Regions from separate parts of the Homo sapiens genome. Here region 1 is linked to region 2. The links are contacts of gene promoters, found by promoter capture Hi-C in blood cells and fetal thymus (Javierre and others, 2016). All regions are on one chromosome and are shown on one strand. The core of a region is centred on a gene start or on the middle of the fragment in contact, and the rest is flanking DNA. Distances in the headings are between cores, read along the strand shown. Region 1 overlaps WAPL-DT (WAPL divergent transcript). Region 2 holds the start of MMRN2 (multimerin 2).

Region 1 (2,864 bases), core at 109-2,608, 430 kb before region 2:
CCACCACCTTAACCCCTTACCTCCCTGCTTCCACTGAGGCAAGCAAATGCCCTGAAGTCCCCTCATTCCCTTACCAGGGCCCTGGGTTCCACACCAGAATGAGCAAACAGAACTCCAGTGTGGGTAACACATGGCTGAACAGCTTTTTGTTGTATTGTTTTTGTTTTCTTAGTTCTCTCAGCTCAGGCTCCATCCCCCTGGCCACCTCAACCCCTAGAATGGTTGTCTCCATTTCATGAGAATCTTCACACTAACATCAAGTAGCCAGTAGGTGCTTTTGGTTTTGCTAGAATGCCTGTGTGCAAGCTCTCAGATACCTGATTTTCTTTCCCCCACTGAATGTTGTGTTTGTCAGAAACTGAAATCATGGATCAGAGCCAAGTTTGTAGTACCCTTAGGAGGGGCCTCTGCCCTCCTGTGTGCTGCCTGGGTGAGGACAGAACCCCCTAACCTGGAGCTCCACTTGAGTGGGCCCATACCTGTACTTTCCTCTGAAAAAAGAAAATCCTGCAAAGAAAATAGAAGACATCTGTTCTGCCATTGCCATGCCCTTGTTCTAGCCCAGACATGAGAACTGTCAGAATTGGAGTTACTAAATAGAACTTTTAGTCTTTTTCTGATAATGTGTAGTAAAGTGTATTACAACTTATAGAATTCTATTTAGGGAACTACAGGTCAGAAACTACCATATTGGTAGCAGTCAATTTTTCTTTGCCATCGGATGTGGAATAAAATGTTAAATTGTACACTTGCATGTTGTGGTTATATTACAAAGCTCTACGAGATGTGGGCCAGGCCCTGCCCTTTGCTCATGCAGCCCCAACTTTCTGCTCTGCCCACACCTGACTCCTTGCTGTTTCCCCACCTTAGGGCCTTTGTATTTCCTATTCCCTCTGCCTACAACTCCCCCAGATACCAGCCTGCTTCAATTCTCTCCTCTAGGTTTTCACTCAGATGGGACTTTTCAATGAATCTCCCCTGACCAACCTATCTTAAATTGTTGCAACATCCTCACTCCTAAATGTCACTGTCCCTGCTTTACTTTCTTTAAGGGCATTTATCTTCCCATCTAACATATCAGGCATTTTGCATGTTTATCTTAAATGTTGTGCTCCCTCTGAAGGCAGGGATCTCTGCCTGTCTTGTTTTCTGCTGCAACCCTAGCACCTAGAAGACTGCCTGGCACAAGAGTAGGTGCTCAATAAATATTTGTTGAATAAAAGCACCCATTTATTTCCTTCTTTCATGTAAAATTATATACATATATTATATATATATATATATATATTTTTTTTTTTTTTTTTTTAGACGGAGTCTCGCTCTGTCACCAGGCTGGAGTGCAGTGGCGCGATCTCGGCTCACTGCAATCTCTGCCTCCCTGGTTCAAGCGATTCCCCTGCCTCAGCCTCCCCAGTAGCTGGGACTACAGGCGCACACCACCACACCCAGCTCATTTTTTGTATTTTAGTAGAGATGGTGTTTTGCATGTTGGCCAGGATGGTTTCGATCTCTTGACCTTGTGATCCGCCTGGCTCAGCCTCCCAAAGTGCTGGGATTACAGGTGTGAGCTACCATGCCTGGCCACATTTTTTTTTTTTTTTTTTTTTTTTTTTTTTGGTGACAGAGTCTTGCTCTGTCGCCCAGGCTGGAATGTAGTGGCACGATCTCCAATCACTGCAACCTCCACCTCCAGGGTTCAAGCCATCCTCCCACCTCAGCCTCCCAAGTAGCTGGGACTACATGTCCATGCTATCATGCCCCACTAATTTTTGTATTTTTGGTAGAGATAGGGTTTCACCTTGTTGCCCAGGCTGGTCTTGAACTTCTGGGCTCAAGCCATCCACCTACCTTGGCCTCCCAAAGTGCTGGAATTACAGGCATGAGCCACTGCCCCTGCCTATATCTTGAAAGGAAAGTGATAAAACTATCAACAGTTTCACATAACCTGGTAGCTCTAATAAAATGTTAACTGGGTTTTCACAATTGGGAGGGGAGTGCTTTCTGGAGAACTTTTGTTCTTGCCTTGGATAGGTTTTCATTCTGAGAATTGAGAAAATGAGTACTGTTATAATCCCAATTATCATATTTCCCAGGATAATTGGAATATGTTCTCTGGAGATAGTGACGTCCTCTGGGGAATACACTGCTGTCTAGGTAGATGAAACACAAAGCAAAGGAAATTCTCTAGGAGCACATTGCCTGACAAGGACCGGTACAAGCAACCTCGAAGAAGTCTGGCTTCCTGACCCTTGTCCTGGAAACAGCCCTTTTTTATTCAGGATCCTCACCCTTAATACTGTATGATACCCGCCTAGTCAAACACCCTGAAGGGTCCTCCTGTAATACTAAAATCCAAAGTTCTTAACGGTGAAAAGGCCCTGCATGATCTGGCCCCTGAGTACTCCTATCCCTTCCTACCTTGCCGGGCCTGCCTCTGTCTACTACTAGAACATGCCAAGCCAGCTCCTGCCTGTGGGCCCTCTTCGTACTTGTTCCCTCTGTTAGTCCTCAAGAGACACACACAACTCATTCCCTGCATGCTTTCAGGTCTTTGCTCAAGTGTGTCTCTCAGTAATGTTTTCCTTGGCCATGCTATTTAAGGTCATCCAGCACCCTGTATCTCCTTTTCCCTGCTGCTTTTCTCCATAACATAGTCATTACGTTTGCTTTGTGTATGAACTTGTTTATTATCTATTTCGTTTCACAAGAATATAAACTCCATGAGGACGAGGATGGCTGACTTTTGTTCATTTTATATGCCAAGCACACCTAGAATAGTGCCTCACACACAGAAAGTGTGCTATAAATATTTGTTGACTGAATACCTGGATTAATTGAAGCTTTAAATTGTGTTCAGCGGCCAG
Region 2 (2,708 bases), core at 62-2,561:
CCCTCCCTGGTCAAATCTGTTTTCAGGAAAGCACCCAACAAACCTGCAACTCAGAAGCCAAATGAGACCTATCCCAGGCAGGTCCGCTCTGCGATGGTGGCTCTCATACACCGCACAGAAGTGTAAGTTGGCCCCCCCCTCACTCCCTAAATCCATGTAGATGCCCTTAGCCAAACAGGTCTGGTGTGTGGGGGCAGGAGGGTGGAGGTAGGAGCATCTGGGGGCTGGGGCTGGCTCCAAGTGCTGCAGAGAGTTCACTATGAGCTCTGAAGTCAAACTCAGATCCTGCTCCTTAGCTGTGTGGCCTTGGGCAAGCCCCTCAGCCTCTCTGAGCCTCAGGCTCCTCCTCTGTAAGTGGGGCTGTTGGAGGGATGAACTGAGATACACGTGGCAAGGTGCCTGGCCCTGAGACTGGGGGCCCCGTAAACAGCACCTGCTGCTCTGACTGAGGGGCAGTTGGAGATGAGGGGGGACTTACAGGCCCAACACCTCATCAGCAGGATGGGCCCTGGCTCTGTACACATAGAATGTTGGAAAGCTATGTTCTGGGTCCAGTTGCAAGACCATCCTGCCCACTTGCTGGGTCGCTGAGGCAGAGCGCCCTGGACTGTGCTCTGGAGAGCAGGGGGCCGTCTCTGCTCACTGCTGGGCAGTCAGAGTCAGGTCCCCAGGGAACTCAGATCAAAATCTCAGGGCAGCCTTGCTGGGTCTCAGCTTTCAGAATTGATTTCTTTGGAAGAACAGGAGGCATAGCCAGGCCAGCTGGCAATGGCTTCAGCCACAGTCCCCCAGTGCCCCATGCTGGGTGATTGATGGTAGGAGCTGTGCCTCCCTGCCAGCCCCCCAAGCCCCATTCCCTGCCATGGCTCCGACAGGGAACTCCCTGCAATTCTTAGGTGGATCCTGAAACACCCAGTCCAGACTACTTTTTCAGCCTCACAGATGGCCCAGAGATAGATACTATTAGCCCATTTCACAGATGGGACCCCAGTGAGGTCTAGAGAGGCTCTGCTCTAGCTGAGCTGGGACTCAGATCCTACTCCATGACCTCTGCCAAGGTCCAGGCCCTCTTACCGTCCTACGGGGTCCTTGCCGGTGTCCTCAGCCTCTGCCTTCCAGACCCCAGGTGTCCTGGAGCTCTGCAGATCAGAGAGGCTAGTACTGGAAGCCTGGGCCCATGCCCCCAGCAGCCCCCAGCCCAGGGGGCCCCCAAGGCTGAACAGCAAGCTCAGGATCATCTTGGTGGTGGGGCAGGCTCAGCTCACACTCAGCCTTGGCAAGTAGCTCCAGAAACTGCTAGTGACGTTGTCTTCAAGTTAAATCTCAGGAGGAAAAGAAAATACGAGGACAACAAAGAGAGGAAGTGGCCTGGGCCGGCCTACCCGGTGGGTCTTGTCCTGCCCCCCAACTACCCTGGCTGGCCCCACAGGGGCCGCCAACCACACAAGCCAGTTCCTGTCCCTGAGGACTTGGCTCAGGGACTCTGGGAATGTGGTAGACATGGGGTGGCCCCACCAAATGCATCCTTATGGGAACCTGCTCCCTGGGAGCCATGAAAAGAGCGTGGACTTCGAGGTGGGGCCACAGGAAGTGGTCAGGTCCATCTCAGGGGACCTGCTGCCCATCCACACTGCTGGCCAGGAAATGGGGGGCAATTCATGCCTCCTCAGCACCTTCAGCACTGGGCGGCTCAAAGAAGGGAAGGGACTATTCTGGGGTCACACAGCATGCAGCCAGAGGCCAAGGCATGAGGAAGTCCTTCATTTCCCCACCCCCACCCACCTCAGATCCTCCAACCGGTTTCATGGCAGCCCAGGGTCCAGCGGCATCCAGGATGCTGGTGGGTAGCTGCACAGCCCAGGCCGCGGGAGGTTGGCTGCTCTCACCTAACAGGCCTATGTGGCCCTGACCCCTACCTAGGAAGCTGGGGACAATGGCCAAGGCGCCTCCCCTCTCTGTGCCTGTCTGTCCAGGTGCAGCATAGACACAGCACCCCTGGGGCCAAGAGCACCCAGCCAGGGCTGCCCCCATGGGTGGGCAGGGCAGTAAATGAATGAGGGACAGGTTGGGAGGTGGCCAGCCCCCTCCAGCCCATGGAGGGCACGGGGCAGGAGAGCTGGGCTGAGCCAGCAGGAGCCCAGGGAGCCTGGTCTCTGCCTTCCTATCCTGGAGGAAGGTGAGGCTGAACCTCCTTCCCTCCCTCCCTCCCTCCCCGCCCCCACTGCACGCAGGGCTGGCTGGGCTCCAGCTGGCCTCCGCATCAATATTTCATCGGCGTCAATAGGAGGCATCGGGGACAGCCGCTGCGGCAGCACTCGAGCCAGCTCAAGCCCGCAGCTCGCAGGGAGATCCAGCTCCGTCCTGCCTGCAGCAGCACAACCCTGCACACCCACCATGGATGTCTTCAAGAAGGGCTTCTCCATCGCCAAGGAGGGCGTGGTGGGTGCGGTGGAAAAGACCAAGCAGGGGGTGACGGAAGCAGCTGAGAAGACCAAGGAGGGGGTCATGTATGTGGGTAAGTGGGGCATGGCAGGGTGGGACAGTGTGGTGGCCAAAGGGTGAGTGCCCAGTTACCTTCGCCAGACCTTACTCCCCAGCCCCAGGGAGGCATTTTGGGAGGGGGCGAGGCCCTGGCTATCAAGGTGGGGTCTCCAGACCCTGGAGCACCCACAATGCCCTGTGCACACCTATGTGTGTTTGTCTTTGGC

What was found. The method cuts DNA at HindIII sites, captures the fragments that hold promoters and counts their contacts. A CHiCAGO score of 5 or more calls a contact.
Region 1: a contact is called between a fragment that was not itself captured here and the fragment with the promoter of MMRN2 in region 2, in 2 of 17 cell types (naive CD8 T cells and naive CD4 T cells). The highest score is 5.2, in naive CD8 T cells.

Annotation. Positions count from the first base shown.
Region 1 is chr10:86,524,356-86,527,219 of GRCh38, forward strand. It overlaps WAPL-DT (WAPL divergent transcript), which reads left to right. Exons shown (of 2, transcript NR_186498.1): 2 at 1-746. Among named protein-coding and RNA genes, the nearest start is that of WAPL-DT, 3.8 kb to the left of the region's middle. The HindIII fragment of the contact is 2,960 bases long and covers 1-2,838 here.
Region 2 is chr10:86,956,304-86,959,011 of GRCh38, forward strand. MMRN2 (multimerin 2) reads right to left here and starts at 1,312. Exons shown (of 7, transcript NM_024756.3): 1 at 1,075-1,312. The coding sequence starts at 1,238. SNCG (synuclein gamma) reads left to right here and starts at 2,296. Exons shown (of 5, transcript NM_003087.3): 1 at 2,296-2,515. The coding sequence starts at 2,395. RefSeq lists an enhancer at 2,586-2,708. The HindIII fragment of the contact is 12,184 bases long and covers 1-2,708 here.